Linked DNA regions of Homo sapiens: regions 2 and 3 are each linked to region 1. Evidence: promoter capture Hi-C in 16 types of primary human blood cells and fetal thymus (Javierre and others, 2016). All regions are on one chromosome and are shown on one strand. Each heading gives the region's core, a stretch centred on a gene start or on the middle of the fragment in contact. The rest is flanking DNA. Distances are from core to core; before and after follow the strand shown.

What was found. Contacts are between HindIII fragments. The CHiCAGO score rates a contact against its expected background, and 5 or more counts as called.
Region 2: a fragment that was not itself captured here is called in contact with the fragment with the promoter of MRPL23-AS1 in region 1 in 1 of 17 cell types (M2 macrophages); the score reaches 5.4 in M2 macrophages.
Region 3: a fragment that was not itself captured here is called in contact with the fragment with the promoter of MRPL23-AS1 in region 1 in 1 of 17 cell types (M1 macrophages); the score reaches 6.4 in M1 macrophages.

Annotation. Positions count from the first base shown.
Region 1 is chr11:1,988,640-1,991,193 of GRCh38, forward strand. MRPL23-AS1 (MRPL23 antisense RNA 1) reads right to left here and starts at 1,281. Exons shown (of 4, transcript NR_024471.1): 1 at 1,187-1,281. LINC01219 (long intergenic non-protein coding RNA 1219) reads left to right here and starts at 2,457. Exons shown (of 3, transcript NR_126400.1): 1 at 2,457-2,554. It also overlaps a transcript of MRPL23 not described here. RefSeq lists enhancers at 1-2,554, 1-2,554. The HindIII fragment of the contact is 17,986 bases long and covers 1-2,554 here.
Region 2 is chr11:1,621,816-1,624,369 of GRCh38, forward strand. KRTAP5-4 (keratin associated protein 5-4) reads right to left here and starts at 323. Exons shown (of 1, transcript NM_001347674.1): 1 at 1-323. The coding sequence starts at 278. The HindIII fragment of the contact is 1,135 bases long and covers 700-1,834 here.
Region 3 is chr11:1,724,579-1,727,132 of GRCh38, forward strand. No RefSeq gene overlaps it. Among named protein-coding and RNA genes, the nearest start is that of IFITM10, 25 kb to the right of the region's middle. The HindIII fragment of the contact is 2,242 bases long and covers 149-2,390 here.

The sequences.
Region 1 (2,554 bases), core at 31-2,530:
TGGGTGGCAGCAGCAGGCAGGGACCTTCCCGGCGGCCCCAGTGGCTCCCTCCCTCCCAGAACCCTTTCTCCTTCCTTGGGCCTAGAGCTTCCTCCACGTACTTTTCCCCGCCCCCGCCTTTCCCCTCTCTCTCACCCCGCTCAAACATGCTGTGACCTTTCCAGGGCCCCTGGACATCACTCACTGGGTGACAGAGGTTGACAGGCATGGAGCTAAGGAATGGGAGGCAGGGCGGGGGCGGCCAAGCCTCTCCAGCCGCTCCCTTCCCGCTTGCCCCACAGACGGGCCTCCCTGGATGGTCCTGGGTCAGCACACACGCTCCCAGGCGCTTCCTTCCCCAGGAGACAGTCCCCAGCCCCTGGCGGCCCAGATCCTCCTGCTCAGGCCGACGCATCCCACCTGGGCCCCAGAAACCTCTTTGGAAAGGGACAGTCACCTCAGAGTGGCAAGCACTTAAAAGAGACCCCCAACAGGCCGGTGTGTCGTGGTGGCAGGCAGGGTGTGTCTGGAGAGAAGGGGGACGTGTCCCCAGCTGGGCCTGGGGGCGGCTCCGTGGGAAAGTCCCACCTGGTCCCAGCCCCGGGTCTCCAGCCTTCAGACTCCTTGGGGGTCTCTGTGGCCTGGCAGAGGTCGGTGGCCCCTCAGTGGAGGTGAGGCCTCTCCTGGGTCACCACCGCACACCGGCCTGCTGGGAAGCTGGGGTTCTGGGCCACAGCCGGCCCTGGACGTGGAGGGGGGCATCAGGCCAGACCCCCCAGGGGCTCACAGGGCTCTGGGAGGCCCTGGCAACCCCAGGGTGCCCCCAAGCCCTCAGAAGGGTTGTCCCTACTTGGAGGGGACCACACAGCCAGGTGGGCAGGAACAGGCACCACGGCGGCCCTTCCCTGTCCACCCTCTCACCAGTGGCCCGCAGTGCAGTCCAGGAAGCACCGGACAGAGCACGGGGCAGGGAGGGGAGGCCCGTACTGGCTTCACAGAGGTCTGGGAGGGGCTAGCCCCTGTGCAGACAGACCCCTGAAGCCTAGAGCCGCCGGCCCAGCTGAGGTCCTTCCCAGGGGCCATTCTGGGACCCCTGACCCCATGCACCTGTGTCACAGGGCTATGAGCGCCCCCAGCCCCAGGACCTCCACGTTTCTCTCTAGAGGGAAGAGGAGGAGGACGGCAGGCCTGCTGGCCCCACACTTACTGGTTGGGGACGCTCAGAGGGGGCAGCCGCCATGCCGGGAAGTTAGGGTGGGCAGAGGAGCAGCGGTGCCAGGACCCCCAGGCCATGCTGCCACCCCGGACCCTGAACAGTGGGCTAGTGTGTGGGCCTGGGGAGTGAGGGCCCAGGCCGGGCTGGGTCTCGCTCCATAAACCCTGGCTGGCCGGAGCTGCAGACATCACTGTTGACACAGGGGTGATGTCACTGCCGGCCAATGGGGAGACCCTCGGGGGCCCTACGTGTGCCTCTCTGTGCTCCCAGGGCCCCCGCCACGCACGCCGCCTGCTCTGAATGCTGCCTGCATAAACCGGTTTTTCTAAATGTCTTTGGGGCCCTGCTTGCCCCCTGGGCCCCATCTCCTGCTCATCCCACCCCACCCTTGGGCCCAGCCTATGAGCCAAGCGGGAGTGGGGAGTGGCGGAGAGCCCTGGGCCTGCCCGCTCCCACAGGCATGTGGGCCCCAGAGCCCTGACCCCTGCACCTTCACCTCGCCAGCCTCTCTCCCATCTGCCACGACCCCAGCTGCCACCATGGCTCCCCACAGTCACCCCTGGGCCGTCTCTTCCTCCTGTCGGGAGAATGTTCCTCCTGGGAGAGCCTGAGGCCCCCTCTCTGCTCCTTGCTCCCCCGTCTGTCTCCCCTGCCCTGCCTTGCAGCCCTGCCCTGGGTCCATATGCTCAGAGCTGGCTACATATCCTGTGGCTGCCCATGACACATAGCTCCCCCAGGCAGGGCCGGACCCCGGGCACCTCTTTGCCTCCAGGGCCGGCCCCACTCTGTTGGAGGTCAGCCGGTTCCGAGGCCTCCAAGCCGCCTTTCTACTTCTCGATTCCAGGGCCTGGTCTCCACTCCCTCTGGGCTTTGGGGTGCATGCTGCAGTGCAGCCTCCCCGCGCCCCGGCCTCCATGCACCCTGCTCGTGCTGCCTCAGAGGCTTGGCATCTCCCCCATCTTCCAGCCAGGCAGCCAGTTTTCTGCAACGTGGGGCCCACGGTCAGCGTCCCCCACAGCCCTGCCAGCCCTTCTCCCCGGGGGTCCGCCCTGCACCCCCTTCCCAGGAGCTTGCTCTGCACCCACTGCTGGGCCTCCTGGCCTAGGGGCTTGGCACGTGCCTGTGAGCAGAGGCGCTGGGCAGGAGGAGGAGGAGGAGCCTGCAGTGCCTGGCGCCCGTGTGTGTTTACTGGTCCGGCCCCAGCCCCGCGCCGCTCCCCGCGGACCCGGCCTCCCGCCTGTGTCCAGCCAGGTGTTGGGTGATGGAGCGGGGCTCCCTAAGGACAAGGAGCACAGTGTCTGCTTTCTTTGCAAGCACAGTGCTGACAAGGAACAGAATACCCACAGCGACTGCTTCCAG
Region 2 (2,554 bases), core at 17-2,516, 370 kb before region 1:
GAGACACAGCCCCCCTTGGAACCCCCACAAGAGCCATAGCCCCCCTTGGAGCCCCCACAGGAGCCACAGCTGGAGCAGGAACAGGCTGGCACACAGCAGCACACAGGTTTGCAGCAGCAGATGGGCACACAGCAGCTGGAGCCACAGCCCCCACAGCCGGAGCCACAGCCCCCACAGCCGGAGCCACAGCCCCCACAGCCAGAGCCACAGCCCCCACAGCCGGAGCCACAGCCCCCACAGCCGGAGCCACAGCCTCCAGAGCAGCCACAGCAGCCCATGGTTCTGGTGGATTGAGGGTGGAGCAGGTAGAGGAGCAGATGAGATGGAGGTGCAGGTGTGGAGCCCCCTGAGCCTGGACCCCCTTATATCCCTGGGTAGGGTTGCTCTGAGACCTTGGTCACTCCATCATTCCCAGCACTTCCTGGGTATGTGATTATTTGTTTGCTGGACTTCGGGTTCTCATTGGCCTGATCCAACACCCACCTGCTTATGTTTCTAAATGTAGTCACTTCCTCCTTGGAACTGGACCTTGTACTGAACTGATCACCTGCCTTCTGTTTTCCTCATGTGATGGGCAGAGGATGGGTTTTCTACAAAGATCATTTTGGTTGTTTTCTTCCCATCTTTTCTTCCCACCTATGGCATTATATTTTTCTTTGAAACTGTGAACTTTGTGTGAAGATAATTTTTTAAAAACTAAGCTTTCATCCATATAATTAAAGAGGCTAATTGAGGAACCAACGTTGTATCTTGGTTCTGTCTTAACACATTGGTGCACTGCAGTGAATCTCTCCTCCGCCAGCCTCAGGTCGTGGGGTGCTCAGGACTCCTGGCTGCTGCATACACAGCCTCACGTGGTGAGTATTGTTTATGTTAAAAATCTCAGGAATTTCATGGGTGGATGGGGGATCTCATTTATCATCCTGTTGTTAATCTCTTCAATTAACTATTAGTGAGGGTGATTCTTTTACTCCAATATAAATTATATACTTTTTTATTGGCCAGGCACAGTGGCTCACACCTATAATCCCAGCACTTTGGGAGACCAAGGTGGGCGAATCACGAGGTCAGGAGATCGAGAACATCCTGGCTAACATGGTGAAACCCCGTCTCTACTAAAAGTACAAAAAGTTAGCCGGGCGTGGTGGCGGGCGCCTGTAGTTCCAGCTACTCAGGAGGCTGAGGCAGGAGAATGGTGTGAACCTGGGAGGTGGAGCTTGCAGTGAGCCGAGATCATGCCACTGCACTCCAGCCTGGGCGACAGAGCAAGACTCCGTCTCAAAAAAAAAAAAAAAAAATTTATACCTTTTTGACTTCTCATTACTGCTTTAAAAGTTATTTGGATATTGAGAGAACAAATCCCTTGTGTTCAAACAGTGTACTTTGTTTTTCCACAGGCATGTACTTGAGTTTAATTTCTGACGTTTTTAAAAGCCATTCTCACTTTGTCTTAATTGTCATTTTTAGCCTCGCCAACATTATTAGATGGTATAAAAATGAATGTCTTTCAGCCGGGCGCGCTGGCTCACGCCTGTCATCCCAGCACTTTGGGAGGCCCAGGCGGGCGGATCACGAGGTCAGGAGATCGAGACCATCCTGGCTAACATGGTGAAACCCCGTCTCTACTAAAAATACAAAAAAAAATTAGCCGGGCGTGGTGGCAGACGCCTGTAGTCCCAGCTCCTTGGGAGGCTGAGGCAGGAGAATGGCGTGAACCCGGCAGGCGGAGCTTGCAGTGAGCCGAGATCGTGCCACTGCACTCCAGCCTGGGCGACAGAGCAAGACTCCATCTCAAAAAAAAAAAAAAGAAAAAAAAAAAAAAGAATGTCTTTCAAGCTTGGGATAAAGGCCTTGTCTTATCTGGAAGAGGCGAGAGAGGGGTTATAGGTTCCGTCGTTCCCATTGCTAATGGGAGCTGTGGGGCAGGGGACTGAGAGAAACCCACAGAGAGGGAAGTGCCTGCTGTGCTGAAAATGGCTTCTTCCTAGGGAACACACTGGGTCAGAGGATGCAGCCCTGTGTGGCAACAGTTCACGCCTCCCGACTAGGCGCGGTGAGGCTGGGATGGGGACACTTCATAAGACCTGGATTGTGAGCACAGAGCCCAGGCATCCTAACAAAGCTGTCCCCCACCAGCCCTGCGCGAGGCCGCACTGGACATGAGCAGACCATCACGCACCCCAGGTGCTCACCAGAGCTTGGCAGCTCCGCCCTCAGGTGCTGGGTAAAGGGAACCAGGAGCATCCCATTTTGTTTCAACATAGGTAGAAGATCTAGACAGGATTGGCCAAACCCAAGAGAGGTAACATGAGATTCTGTAACAGCTATGAAAACAAACCTTAAAAAACAAAAGGAGGAGGAAAGGAAGGAGACAAACCTTTCTAAGCAAACTTGTCATCCGGGAGACAAAAGTAGATTTCCTGCAAATGGTTGAGTTATGCAACAAATAATAACAAATATGGCAGCAAATTACAAATATGGCATACTAACTTTAATAGGGCTCTCAGTTGAGATGGTAAAATTATAGAGTAAGTTTTATTTTGTTTATTTGTTT
Region 3 (2,554 bases), core at 20-2,519, 260 kb before region 1:
AACATCAGAAAGGAAGTAGACTTAATAAAAGAAATATTGCTACCAATAAAATGAATCACTTGATAATTTCAAAAAGATCAATCAAAAAGACACGACAATTCTAAACTTCCATTCATCTGATAGCGTTGCTTAAAATACGCAAAAGCAAAGCTTGACAGTGGCAAGGAGACATAGACAAATCTACAATCAGAGTTGGAGGCCGTAATGCACGTCTCTCAGCAACTGATAGGACAATTAGACTGAAAATGAAATCAGTAAGGCAGGAGAAGATTTCAACAACATAATTAACCACTGGAAATAATTAAAATTTACAGCCAATAACTGGAAAATAAACATCTTTTCAAGTGCACATAGACACAGTTACAGGAACAGACCAAAATCTGCTTCAAAAAGAAGCCTCATGCATTGTTAAAGTATTGAAATGATCTAGGGAATGTTCCCTGACAATAGTAAAAATAAAGCCAGATACTGAGAACAGAAGGATAACTACAGGCCGGGCGTGGTGGCTCACGCCTTTAATCCCAGCACTTTGGGAGGCCGAGGCGGGCAGATGACCTGAGGCCAGGAGTTTGAGACCAGCCTGGCCAACATGGTCTCTACTAAAAATGCAAAAAATTAGCTGGGCGTAGTGGTGGGTGCCTGTAGTCCTACCTACTCGGGACGCTGAGGCAGGAGAATCGCTTGAACCTGGAAGGCGGAAGTCGCAGTGAGCTGAGATTGCGCCACTGCACTCCAGTGGGGGCGAGTGTAGAGCGAAACTCTGTCTCAAAGAAAAAAACAATAATAATCACTATAAAAATCTGAATGTCTGCCGGGCACGGTGGCTCACGTCTGTAATCCCAGCACTTTGGGAGGCCGAGGTGGGCAGATCACGAGATCAGGAGATCGAGACCATCCTGGCTAACACGGTGAAACCCCGTCTCTACTAAAAATACAAAACAATTAGCCGGGCGAGGTGACAGGCGCCTGTAGTCCCAGCTACTCGGGAGGCTGAGGCAGGAGAATGGTGTGAACCCGGGAGGCGGAGCTTGCAGTGAGCCGAGATGGTGGTGCCACTGCACTCCAGCCTGGGTGACAGAGCGAGGCTCCGTCTCAGAAAAAAAAAAATCTGAATGTCTGCAAATTAACCAAGTGTCTATGTAATCAAGGATTCAAAAAAGAAATCAGGATAGAACTCAGAAACTATATTGAAACAAATGATAATAAAACATATATAATATCAAAACTTGTAGGATATTTATGGATTTAAATTAATTCATTATATTATGAAAAAAGAAAGTTAAAAAGAATTATTCACCAAAGAGGCTGGAGGGAAAAACAGCAATTTAAACCCAAAGAAATTACAAGAAAGGGAATAATAAAGTTAGGAACAAAAATTAATGAAATGAAAAGCAGACACACAATGGAAAGACCCACAGGCAAACTTTTCTTTTTTAAATAAGTATATTGATAATTATCTACAAGACTGACCAAGAATAAAGAGAATCAAAAGTTGTCAAGAGTATGAAATAGGATGATCAGAAATGAAAATGTGGGTACAGACATCCAAAATGGAATAAAAATATACTATGAACAACTTTATGTCAATACATCTGGCAGCTTCAATGAAATGGAAAAATTCCTTGAAAAACATTACCAGTTATGAAGACTTAATACAGATAGTATTCCCACAGGAATGGAGACAGTCTGATGCTGCTGTAAAGTCAGATAAATAGACCAGTGGGACAGACTGAAGTCCAGAAACACATGCACCACGTCTCTACGGCCACCCAACAAACCACTGAGGGCCCCTGCAACTTAGTGGGGGAAAGATGGTCTTCTCCATGAGGGACATGGCAGCACTGGGACGTCTCTATGGGAAGAATAAAAATACTAACATTGCCCCGGAGTTGGTTCAGGTTCTCCGGCAGCAGAACCAGAAGTGAGAAGATCTCCATGTCTGTAATTTACTGGGGACATGCTCCTAGGAAAATGGGGGAAGGGAAGTAAGATTTCAGGAGAGTGGGGGTTTCTGTGCAGGCCCAGCTTCTGCCTAATCAATGGCAACTCTTGATCATAGATCATAAGTTTATCTTGATGCAGACAGGGGAGCTTGGCTTTGGGGCTCCAGCCGGAAACAGCAGTGACTAAAGACTGTGAAAGGGATATGAAGTCCAGATACAGGGTCTTCCCAAGTACCATCTCAGTCGTGGACTCTTGGAGACAGATGCACACTGAGGCTGGGGGTGGGGCACAGAGGAACAGTGGTATGACCCAAGCAGACCTGGGTGGAGGACCTACAGTGTCCTCAGCTCCCCCGACCTCCCACCTCACATCATACACAAAAATTCATCCAAGGTGGAGCACAGACCTAGATCCAAAAGGCAGAACAATAAAGCTATTAAGAGAAAAGCTTCATGACCCTGAAGTGAGTAAAAAAAAAATAAAGAAAAAAGAAATTAAAAATTAACAGGACATGAAAAACATCAGTCATACAAGATAAAAATTATAAATGGAATTTAATAAAAAATAACTTAGTTATCAGAATATAACATTAAGACAGTGAAAAGACAAA